3 separate regions of the Homo sapiens genome follow, and all the other regions are linked to region 3. The links are contacts of gene promoters, found by promoter capture Hi-C in blood cells and fetal thymus (Javierre and others, 2016). All regions are on one chromosome and are shown on one strand. The core of a region is centred on a gene start or on the middle of the fragment in contact, and the rest is flanking DNA. Distances in the headings are between cores, read along the strand shown. Region 1 holds the start of HMGB3 (high mobility group box 3). Region 2 holds the start of RBM41 (RNA binding motif protein 41). Region 3 holds the start of ENOX2 (ecto-NOX disulfide-thiol exchanger 2).

Evidence for each region. Contacts are between HindIII fragments. The CHiCAGO score rates a contact against its expected background, and 5 or more counts as called.
Region 1: a fragment that was not itself captured here is called in contact with the fragment with the promoter of ENOX2 in region 3 in 1 of 17 cell types (total B cells); the score reaches 6.4 in total B cells.
Region 2: the fragment with the promoter of RBM41 here is called in contact with the fragment with the promoter of ENOX2 in region 3 in 3 of 17 cell types (activated CD4 T cells, total B cells and non-activated CD4 T cells); the score reaches 12.3 in activated CD4 T cells.

Annotation. Positions count from the first base shown.
Region 1 is chrX:150,981,425-150,985,449 of GRCh38, reverse strand. It overlaps HMGB3 (high mobility group box 3), which reads right to left and starts at 2,115. Exons shown (of 5, transcript NM_005342.4): 1 at 2,074-2,115. RefSeq lists a silencer at 2,085-2,284 and an enhancer at 2,406-3,101. The HindIII fragment of the contact is 2,746 bases long and covers 236-2,981 here.
Region 2 is chrX:107,117,572-107,121,284 of GRCh38, reverse strand. RBM41 (RNA binding motif protein 41) reads left to right here and starts at 2,463. Exons shown (of 8, transcript NM_001324242.2): 1 at 2,463-2,519. The coding sequence starts at 2,512. RefSeq lists enhancers at 2,510-2,699, 3,080-3,159. The HindIII fragment of the contact is 8,519 bases long and covers 1-3,425 here.
Region 3 is chrX:130,901,729-130,905,404 of GRCh38, reverse strand. It overlaps ENOX2 (ecto-NOX disulfide-thiol exchanger 2), which reads left to right and starts at 2,196. Exons shown (of 15, transcript NM_006375.4): 1 at 2,196-2,356; 2 at 3,674-3,676. RefSeq lists enhancers at 1,981-2,170, 1,791-2,310, 2,181-2,450, 2,311-2,830. The HindIII fragment of the contact is 1,854 bases long and covers 1,707-3,560 here.

The sequences.
Region 1 (4,025 bases), core at 359-2,858, about 20 Mb before region 3:
CAGAAGGCAGAGTAGGAAAGAAATCAGCTTCATTGTCGCTTGTCATTTAACTTTTGACCAGCACGAAGCGCGCTGGTTTGCGAGTTACTTCTCAAAAGCGATCAAGTGCTCCAAATGGAGCCGACCCAAGTAGGGTACTCAGTGTTACGTTTACAGAACTGCTATGTTTTGGAAACTACAATCACAAAGTGGGAAGGGTAGAGAGAGGACACATTTGGTGGGGGTGATAGAAGCTTGAAATCTATGACTTAAGACTATCTGGTCATCTGCTAACTGTTAACACAATTAAAAACAACAACTCTTACCACTGCTGAACACAAGACCAAAGCAGGAGAACTATACGTAGGGGACATCTGAAATTGTCACTATTGTTGATGTGTTTTGGCTTACTAAAAAAACGGCTTTACAACACGGGAGATCTGGAAAGTGAGCAGGTACCCCCGTACTATTAGTTCAATTCATCACTTCGTCACTATCTAAAGGGGGAGGGTGTATAAAAAGGGCTAGTCGTGCTCATCTGTAACCCAGAATGCAGGTCCAGCCGAGAACACTTTCTCCAAAGTTTCCAAATAAAAATGCAGCTGCGGCATGTCATCGTCCCTGTCCCACCCCCCAGCTTCCCGCCATCTTTTCCTTTTCCCACACCCAAGGTCATCATGTAAAACTAAAGAGCTCCCCTTGGCAGCAGCCGCCCAGGAGGCTGCCCAACAGAGACCCGCAGCGGCGGCCCGGGCGGGGCGGGACCGGGAGCGGGGGAGTCCCGGCCGGCAGCAGGCAGCCCGCCTCGGCCCCCGTGCCGGGTCACCGGGACACCCGTAATTCACCTTCCATTTTGTCAAAAGCCTCCTGATGAAAGAAAGTGCCCCTGAAATCCGCCGCTGTCATCCCCGGGGGACGCGCGGGGCCGGGGGCGGCGGCGGTGGCGGTGCGCGGGGGGTGTGCGGCCGGGCCGGCGGCAGCCGCGGCACTGGTGGCGGCGTCCGCCGCGCCTCGGAGTCCCACTCGCTAAAATGGCTGATCCGCGCGCGGCCGGCGCGGGCGGCGGCGACAGCGGCGAACAAAGCGGCCCGGGCCCCGCCGCCGCCGCCCGCCCGTCGGCCCCCACCCCGCCCCGCCCCGCCCCGCCCGGGCCGCCCGGGGGCTCGGGGGCCCGGGCCGGACCTCCCCGCCCCCCGGCGCGGGGCGCACTCCTCGGGATAACAAAGGCGCCCGTGCAGCCATGACGCTCGGCCGCTCCAGGGCCCGCAGCGGCGCCCCCGGCCCTCCGAGCCGCCCGCCCCGGGCCGCGGGCGCCGGGGCCGAGGCCGGAGCCCGCCGGGCGCCCCGCCGACCGCTCCGCCCGCCTCCCCTGCCCTCGCCGGAGGCCAGCGCCGCGCCAGCCATGTTAGCGGCGGCGGCGGCGCCGGGCGGGCGGGAGGCGAGAGGGGGGCGGCCGGCCCGCGCCCCCCCGGGCCACCGGGCGCTCCGCGACGGCCATGTTAACGCAGAGCCAGCGGCGTAGCCTGCGGGCCCGCGCGGCGCCGGGCCAAGCCCGGGAGCGAAGTTTGCCCGTGCGGCGGCCCCCGGCGGGCACCAGCCGCGCAGCCCCCGGCGGGCACCGGCCGCCCGTTCCCCAGCGGAGTCCGTCGCGGGCCGGGGAACTCCCGGCCCCCTTCCCGCTGCCGCCGCCCAGCGCCCACAGCCCGCAGCCGCCCCTCTGCTCGCCCAGCCGCCGCAGCCGCAGCTGCCCAAACATCTGGCCTCGGGGGCCCTGGGTTCCCGGCTGCGGCCCCTGGGGCCGCCACGGGCGGGCGTCCGCCGAGGGGGCCGACCCCCGAAAGCGGGGAGCTCGGGGAACGCGTTGGAAAAGTTGAAACACCTGAATTGCTTCTTCCTTCCCGGCCGCCTAGCAGGAGGGAAGGCGGAGGGGGCGGGAAGGGAATGGGGAGTAGAGGCAGGGGGAGGCGGCGGCAGGGCGCGCTCACGGCGGCGCGGGCCGGAAAGTTGTGCGGGCGCTGCGGCGGCGGCGGCGGCGGCGGCGGCGGCGGCGGCGGCGGCGGCGGCGGCGGCGGGAGCGGGCGGTGCGAGACGTACCTGTATTGTTCGCTAGTCTGGGCAGCGCAGGGCACGACGCGCGGCTCAGCGCTCCCCAGCCTCGCGCTAGCTGCCTCCACGAGAGCCGCCTGATTGGCCAGCGGGCTCTGCCGTTTAAAACAGCCTCCTCGCCTGGCCATTGGCTGCGGGCCTCATGCATATTAAGCAGGCGTGGACGCCCATTGGGCGCGGCTGCTGGGATCATTCATTCAAACAGAACGACCCGCCGGCGCCGGCTACGGAGGCCAAACAGGGAAAGACCTAGTCTCGCCTGCCCGCCCCGCCCACCTCGCCAGCCCCCTCGGGGAACAGAACTGGGATCGCCAAGGGCTTTGAAGAGGTGGCCCTGCGATTCCCGGAGGCCTCGGCCTCTGGCGTGGGAAGATGAAGTCCAGCCCCGCTGCGCTGCCCTCTGCTCCCACCGCACCGCGGCCTTGGCGCCCCTGGCCTGCAGTCAGCTCCCCTGCCCGGGGAAACACCCCTGGGCCCACCACGAAGGGCCGATGGTAGACCACCTCTACCCGGTTCGGCCGCGGCGCCGCGACAGAAACGCGGCGGCAGCTCGCTCCTCGATGCCTGGCGGAGGGCAGCTGCTTGCTCGCCAAGACCTCGGGATTTAGTCCTCGGATCTCGCTGCCTATCCGAAAGCCACCTGATTCCGCTTCTGCGGATCGTGCTCAACTAGGCTCTTTCCACTAAATGCCAGAAGGTCTTTATTTGCGCCCGAAATTGCGGAACCGACGGGCTAAAAGAGGAAAACAAAATTTGGCAAGAGCAGAGAATTTGTGAGAAATTGTAGTTTTGTGGGCAAAGAATAACACTTTTCTTCTTACCCTCTTCACTGTCTCGGTTCAAGGCCCTCATTCCCTCTGCTCTCCTGACACACCCTAGAGCAAAGAATTAAAGCTTCGGGAATGAATGAGTGAATGAATGAATGAATGGGATTTGACTTGATCTCCACTTTGCCATTGGCTGGTGGTATGGCCTTGAGCTAGTCACTTCTTTGGGGATTCAGGCAATGTTTTTCAAAGTATAGGAGCCGCAGTGTCACTTCTGTAAGGGATGTTCTGAAATTCGTGGGGCCGGTGCCTGGATGACTGGCAGGTGTTGCTGGAATTCAATAAGAGGAAGGAACGGCCGGGGATACTAAATATCCTACATTGCATAGGACAGTCCCACGCAAGGAAGAAATACTCCACTTCAAATGCAAGTATCAGCCCTATTTGGAAAGAAAGTATCTGAGGGCCCTTGCCTGGAAAGAATGAAAGGGTGAGAAAAAGAGCAGTTTAAAGATTGACAGTTGGAGAAAATAATGCAAAGGAAGAGATGTCATGAGTTTGGTTTTTCTTTTCTTTGAAAGGCCAAGAGATCCAGCTATTTATGAGTCCTATATTCAGAAATAAGCCCCACCAGAACATGAATTTTCCAAATGCTGCTTCCAGAAACCGTGGCTGAGTTTGAGGTGTGCAAAGGATCTGGCTTCACAGGGCACCTGCTTCTTCACCCCTACGCCCCCTCTTACCAACTCCTCTGAGCCTCCCAGCCAAGCCTGAGCCCCTGAAGCTGGTGCTGTTGGCTCCCATCATCAAGGTTCCAATCCAGATCAAAAGGCAAAGATAGAGGCCAAGCGCGGTGGCTCATGCCTGTAATTCCAGTACTTTGGGAGGCTGAGGCAGGCGGATCACGAGATCAGGAGTTCAAGACCAGCCTGGCCAATCTGATGAAGCCCCGTCTCTACTAAAAATACAAAAAAATTAGCCAGGTGTGGTGATGCATGCCTGTAGGAGGCTGAGGCAGGAGAATCGCTTTAACCTGGGAGGTGGAGGTTGCAGTGAGCCAAGATCATGCTACTGCACTCCAGCCTGGGCAACAGAGCAAGACTCCGAAAAAAAAAAAAAAAAGGCAGAGATAGTGCTGCTTTTGACAAGAGCAGGCAGGTATTGTGTCACTAA
Region 2 (3,713 bases), core at 1,214-3,713, about 24 Mb after region 3:
GTATCATTTCAGTATCAATAGGCTATATGTTTTATTAGAAGTTGTACACAAGTTTGGTGTGATGGTTGGTGTAATATTTGTTCCATCCTTTGCCACCGTCCCAGGGGATAAGCACACTAGCAACCTTGGTGTATTTTTCCATTTCCTTGTCAATATGTCAATTGGGACAGATTGGTTGAGCCACAAAATTCAGCTCTACCACCATATAGGATTTACCTGGTGCAGGCAATGATGTGACCCCCCGTTTTGTTTATACTTATATTCAGTTCACGTTCTGTGCCAAAGCTACAAAGTGGTACATGCTATGCCTGCAGTCATTCACCTTTATGATTCAAGAGCACAGTTATTTGCATGTGACAGGTCTTAGGTAGCTCACCATGACATTTTCAATCTGATAGAAGTTCTCAGGACAGGAAATTCTACAATGTTTTTCAGTAGCTGCTTTTTGGTCCTTTGCTCTAACTTGAGCATGGAAATACAAAGCAGTTTGGATAAGTCTAAATCTACTGATTAACATTTGACTATTTACTCATAGATTACCACTCAATCATGGAATAACTTTAAAACCATACCTTTGTATGTGCTTGACAGTCACCCTATACTTAGGAGGTATCCTCATTTTACAGATGAGAAAACTGGCCTAGACCAGTTAAGAAACTTACTGAAACCCACATGGTCTAGTAACTTACCAGAGCAAAAATTCAAGTCCAGATTGCCTCTAAAACCCTGTCGTGCTATACTGTCAACTGAGAAGTGAGATTCAAATCCAAGTAGTGTGCCCCGCCCCCCACCATTACCTACAATCTTTTCTTCTTTGGCTTCTTGAGATGTAAGAGGGTTTCTCTTTAATTAAAAAAGTATTGACTAGGTAATGTAGTCATGGGTTCAAAATTCAAAGGGCACAAAAAGATACGTGAAGAATTTTTTCTGCCCTTGTCCCTCAGCCATCCAGTTCCCCTACCTGGAGGCATTCACTCATCATTTGTCTGTAAGTTCTCCCAAACATATTTTGTGCATATACAAGCAAACACACATATATATGTTTTTAAGTGACTAGAGCTCCCCTTTTTATGCAAATAGAAGCATAGTATACATATCGTTCTGCACCTTGCTATTGCACTAACTATATTTTGGAGATTGTTTAGTAGCAGTTCATAGAGAACTTTGTCATCTTGGTAACTGCTGCATAGTTTTTCATTGAATGATACATTTTCATAGTATGTTCTTGGATATTTTCATTTCTGTTTTCATAAACAATGTTGCAAGGAATGATAGTAGGTTAGAGGATATATAGTATTGAGGATTCTATTCATAACTGAATTGCTGCTTTAAAGGGAATGTACATTTATGATTTTAGTAGTATCCTCATTTGCCCCCAATAGATGTTGTACCAATTTATATTCCTACCACTAGTGTATTGAGAGCGCCCGTTTCCCCACAATCTCAATAAAACAAGTGTGTTATCAAACTTTTGGATCTTTCCCAATCTGTTAGGTGAAAAATGGTAGTTTAATGTACTTTTAAAAATAAACTTTAAGTTCTAGAACAGTTTTAGATACAGAAAGGTTGCATAGTACAAAGTTCCACATACGTACAACTCAGTTTCCCTTGCATAACTCTGATACATTTGTCACAGCTAACGAACCTTGTTATTAGCTAAAGAGCATAGTTTGTTCACATTTCCTTAGTTTTTACCTCATGTCTTTTTTTCTTTTCCAGGATCCCATCCAAGATACTGCATTACTTTAGTCATCATGACTCCTTTGGTTCCTTTTGGCTGTGACAGATTCTTGTGTTTTTGATGACCTTGCTAGTTTTAAGGAGTACTGGTAGTCAGTGTACTTTAAAATTTGTGAGATTGGACATCTTTTCATACACTTAAAGACATTTGCATTTCCATTTCTGGAAACTAAGAGCCTATGCTTTTAACCACTATACTATACCTCTTTCTTGATTCACCATAATTATCAATAAAACATATGTGGGCCTGAACATACACAGACTTCTGATTCTGAGTGGAGAAAACTCTCAAGTCTCTGTTACAGATAGAGGAGAACCATTAGTACAGGTGATATAGTCAGACTCGTGTCTGATGACTCTGGCTACATCGTGAAGGATGAAGCAGAGGCTCGACTGGAAACGGTAGGTAGGCTGGATAAATCCTTGAAAGAAAAGCAGTGTTGATAAGTTCAAAGGAAATTACAGAAGAGCCAGGAATTAGTGGTAATGGATGAGAGAATCAAGAAGTCAAAGGTGACTCGTTTTATGAGCTGGATATTTTGGGTCTTCTTTTGAACCTAAATGAGAAATTCAAAATAAATATTTGGACAATGTTCAGCATACCTGTCACTTGAGATCTACTTTCTCTTTCTGTTGCCATAGCTCTGTGCTACTACAATTCCCAGAGCCCCATGCTCCATCACAATACCCTTAGAAGTCCGCCGCGCGGAGTTCTGGGACTTGAGGTCCGCGGCCTATTTACCCAAGTTGGAGGTAGGGGCCTGTGGAAACATGAAGAGGTAAGGACTTGTCTGAAGAGCAGGCGGCAAGGGGAGCTTTGTTCTACCTTTTCTTTTGAAAATGGCTTCCATTGCTTTCTGGTTTGGGTATTGCACGTTCTCAGGATGCGGTTTCGTGGGAGCGGGAACACGACAAAGGAGACGGGAGGAGGGGAGACGGGCTGAACAGGCCTGCAGAGCGAAGTTCAGGAAGGGCTGCCACCGGGGCCGGCTGCTGTGGGAATGCCCTCCCGGCACGGGCCCCGGGAGCTGGCCGGGTGCTGCGGCTTCGTCGTTTCACCCGGACCCAGCTGGGCAAAAGGGTTTGAGGCTGACAAATTCCCGGCGCCGGAGATGTAGGTACCTCGGGCCAGCCCCTCGCCGTTCTCCCCTACCTCCACCTCCACCTGAGAAAGGCTCGGGGCGGGCGCATTTATTTGCAACGTCTGTGTGTTAAAGACTACTTGCTTGGGCCCCGAAACCATGTAGCGCTTTCGAATCTTAAAGTAAGGGAGCGGTACTTTGTTTCTAAATGTGGAAGGACAGCACCAAAGCGGTTCGATTTATGGGGTGGGGGGAGGGGAGGTGGAAGGCATTGCTGGGCTCAGTTCCCCTTACTTGTCCTGAGGTAAATGGCCGCTTGAGCCTAAATGGCCTGAGCCTCCTAACTATTGACGGGCTTAAATTAATTTTAGATTCACTCTGCAAGTAGAATCATCACTCTGGAATAGTGCAGTGCATTTAAAATTCTTACTGATATGCTTTCCTGCACTGTCAGTTCCTTGCATCTTTTAAAAAACCGTTTATGACTTTGCCTGCCTGAAACTAACCTTTAATATTTTTTTATGATATCTCCTCCATGCGAAATAATGTATAATGTATATATACAGCTTAAAGAATAATAAAGGTTCGCATCCACTACAAGCTTAAGAAATAGGACATTGCCAGTCCCTTAGAAGTCTACTGTGTCTCTTCCCTCCCTTCGTTCCCCCCTGAGGTGACCACTATCCGGAATTTTGTGTTATTAATTCCCTTGCTTTTAAAAAAGCAAATAGTTTCTAGTACATATGAATTTATCCCTAAACAAAATGTTCCTAGTCATGTATTTGAAGTATTCCTGATACTTCATGCTGGCGTTTCTATTGTAAAAGCTACTAGACTCAATGTGGCTAAAACAATACTGACTTTCCCTTTCCCAAATCATTTATTCCATCT
Region 3 (3,676 bases), core at 947-3,446:
TTCACACAATGTTTTTCTGGTGGCCATAATACTGAAAATGCCTTGTTTCACTCCTTTTTATGGCTGAAATGAGGTGATTTTTCTTTTTCTCTTTTTTCTTTCTTTTTTTAATTTTTTAATTTTTTTTGAGACAGAGTCTTGCTCTATCACCCACTACACTCGAGTGTAGTGGTACAATATCGGCTGACTGCAGCCCTAACTTTCCAAGCTCAAGGGATCCTCCTGCTTCAGCTTCCTGAGTAGCTGGGACTACAGGCATGCGCCACTATGCCTGGCTAATTTTCTTGATTTTTTGTAGAGACAAGGTCTCATTATGTTGCCCAAGCTGGTCTCGAACTCCTGGGCTCAAGCAATCCTCCCAACTTGGTGTCCCAAAGTGCTAGGGTTACAGGCATGAGCCCCGGCACCCAGCCGATTTTTCTTTTTTTAAAAAAGCAAATTATTTTCCTGGAGGAATTTAAAAGTATAAAAAGTATTAAAACATAATATAGCAATTCAATTACCACCCTCCAGAATGATTCCCCATAATACCCTAGCTATGTGTTCCCAGTATGTTCTATGTGTATATGCTTTAAAAAATAAACACTATATAAGCACAAAAATTCCTCTGATGGTTCTCTCCCACTTTCAAGTTAAATTATGAACTAATTGATATGACCCCTTGTTGCTGCCTGATCTAGTCTCTGCAATATGGAACTTTTGCTATTGTTCTCTGCACTCTTTCATGCCTTTATGCCTTTGCATATGCTTTGTATAGAATATGGTTGACCTCCCTGCCCCAAATCTGACAAATATTTTACTGGTTCTTCAACCAGTTCTCCAGAAGTAGAACAAGTTCTTCCTCCTCTATGTTCCTATAGAACCCTATGTAGACTTCTTTACAGCATTTTGCACATTGTATACTCATCTATTCCTCCCCCCAGATTCTCCTCTACTACAACTCCCCTCACCTGGATTTTGAGCTACTTGAGGGTAGGGACTATTTTTCCAATTCTGTGGCAACAGTGCCTAGCCCAGAGCTTTGCACAAAGCACTATGCTGAATAAATGGTTGAATTTATTAAATCGTCTTCCTCCTTCACTTATCTTTTTAAAATATTGGGCAATTACCTCAGCAAAATGCAATTCCCCTGTCTTTCCCTTCATTTTACTCGTGAGTCGAAAAGTTGTCCTCATCAAGAAGTTGTAGTAATTCAACTGTAACAAGGCTACAAGGATTCATCTCTAACAGAGAAAAAAAAAGGTCAAAAGTTGGGAGTGAAATTAGCCCTAATAAACAACCATTTTCCTCAACCTTTAAGTCACTTGGAAGTGCTTGGCATTCCCCACCTATGTCTTTATCCAGCTCTTGTAACATATTTTTACTCAAAAGGTTAAGTTTCTTAAAGACACATATAGTTACTCGTTTGTACTTAAGTTGTATTGTCTATCTGTTCTAAATTGTTATTTATAGCAGTTTATGTGGCCACTGTTTTTCATGGCAACAACATAGCTTCATTATGGATTAAATAGGCTTCTTCTGGGCTGGTGTAGATCACATTTCTATGCCTATTTATGACACTGTTTCCAGGGGGAACTATAATTTCCAATTAGAAAAAAATATATACATTCTTCCATACCTTTCAAGTGATTTTAATGCAGGTGGTTCACAAGGAACACACTTTAACAATTTTAAAGGACTATAACTCTCAATTAAAATTCTAAGCTTACCAAAGAATAAACATCATCTTTTGAAAAACACTTAAAACTCAATAACAATTTCAAATCACGATAGAAAGTGCTTCCCGCAAAATGCTAAGAGCTTAACCGACATGAAAATAAATCTAGAGCCTTCGTCTGTCCCCACAAGCACAAACCCATAACCCCAAGAGAGATTCTCTAGACAGTGCACCCAAACTACAATACCCAGAATACCCTTCCCCGTCTGAACGCTGGGGACAATCGGAAGGGGAGGGGAAGAATTGTGCGTATAGAGAAATAAGTGTCCCGCAACTCCATCTCCCATAATTCTCGGTCCTCACTTGTGTCTGTCTGCCAATGTCAACACGAGTTACCCCCAGGAAGAACAGCCTCCAGCGACCTCAAACTACATTTCCCATGAAGCCATGGGCTCGGGCCTCCGGCTTCCCCGGTGACCAGTAGCCAATAGGAGACGCCGCAGTGGGCACCCTGTGTGTGAGAGTCCAGCCTTGGGCCAGAGTGCCGGGTCTAGGCCTGGAAGCGCGAGGCGGGCATTTCGGAAGAGAGTGGCGCGGCGTGGGGCGCCGCGAGGGCACTACGAGCCCAGGAACTGCCGCGCCGGCCCGATTTTCCGCGGCTGTATAAGGACTAGCGCTTCGGTAGCCGGGGAGCTGGAGGTCAGAGAGGCAGAAAGCCCCGGTGGCCGTGGCTGGGGACTGTGGGACTGAGGGGGCCTAGGGAGGAGGGTGCTTCCGGGGCCGCGGTCCTCAGCGCCTAACTCCACCCAGCTCCACCTCTGCAGGGGAGGGGGTATCGGGACTGGGAGTCGGGGGTGGGCTTTTGAGCTCTAGGCGCCAGTTCTCTTGAGCCCGGGAGCGCGCTGTCTTTGCTCTTTTTTTTTTTTTTTTTTGGTCCAACTCGCCCGCCCCTTTTTTTTTTTCCCACGACGCCGCCCCCCTCCCCCTGGCTCTGTGCCTCCTCAGAGGTCCGAAGTTGGGGTTTGCGTCCAGGGTTTTGCCTAGGCGGTGACTGGACTCTAATTCTTACCGCAGGAATTGGGTGATCTCTTTCCTCTTTTCCCTCAATTTGTATTTCAGGTTTGGGCACATAACCCTCCCTGCGCTACACTCCCCATTTTCTTTGGGGCATGGGAATTCCTTGCCACGCTCAGGGCGTGACTTTTTTTTTTCAAACTTTCTCTTTTTGCCTCCTTAATTGATCGCCATCTCTTTACTGGCCCCTCAGCCACCTGCCACTTCCCCCACCAGGTCTTTGAAGTGGGGAGAGTTTCCCCTCAATTTCTAGAAGGGATGGGAAGCAAAAGAGGGAAGGAATCTTGCTTTTGAGAAATGTGTGTTTAAGGTTCAGTGCAGGGTTCTGGTGAGAGTAAAAGGCAAGTTAGACTGGTTATAAAAATCCAGCGCTTTAGGGGTTTCCAGCAAAGACTGATAGCACTAATGTTGACAAACATTTAGGGGGCACACCTTTATTCTACAGAATAAAGTAGACCGTGTGAAACAGACCATATTAATCATTGTATTATTACAAACGTGTGCAAAAAACGCTAAGAGGGGTCAGTGGAAGAGCATACTGATGGGGGTGGTGAGTTCATCTATGGAAGTTCAAGCCTAACCCGGGAAGTGCTGAAGCCCTCATCCGGCTTTCAGGCTTTGTGAAGGAGGTGAATTTTAATCTGGGCTCCAGCAGAGTACAGGGGATTTGAAGTTGTCAAAGAGGAGGGAGAAAATGCTTCCTGCTACTGAGATTGGACTTTGAGAAGGGTAAACAGAAGAGGGAGCACTGTGAGACAGGTGGGCTTGCCTGATTGGAATAAAAGATATCAGCACAAATATACTGGGAAATAAATAGGGTGGAGAAGCTTGGGGTCATAATAACATGATACTTTGAAACATACACATAGTTTGGATATTATTCTGTATCAAATAAAATTGAAGGCAAAAATTAAGATTGGATGATTTTTCTTTTCATCCTAGGGA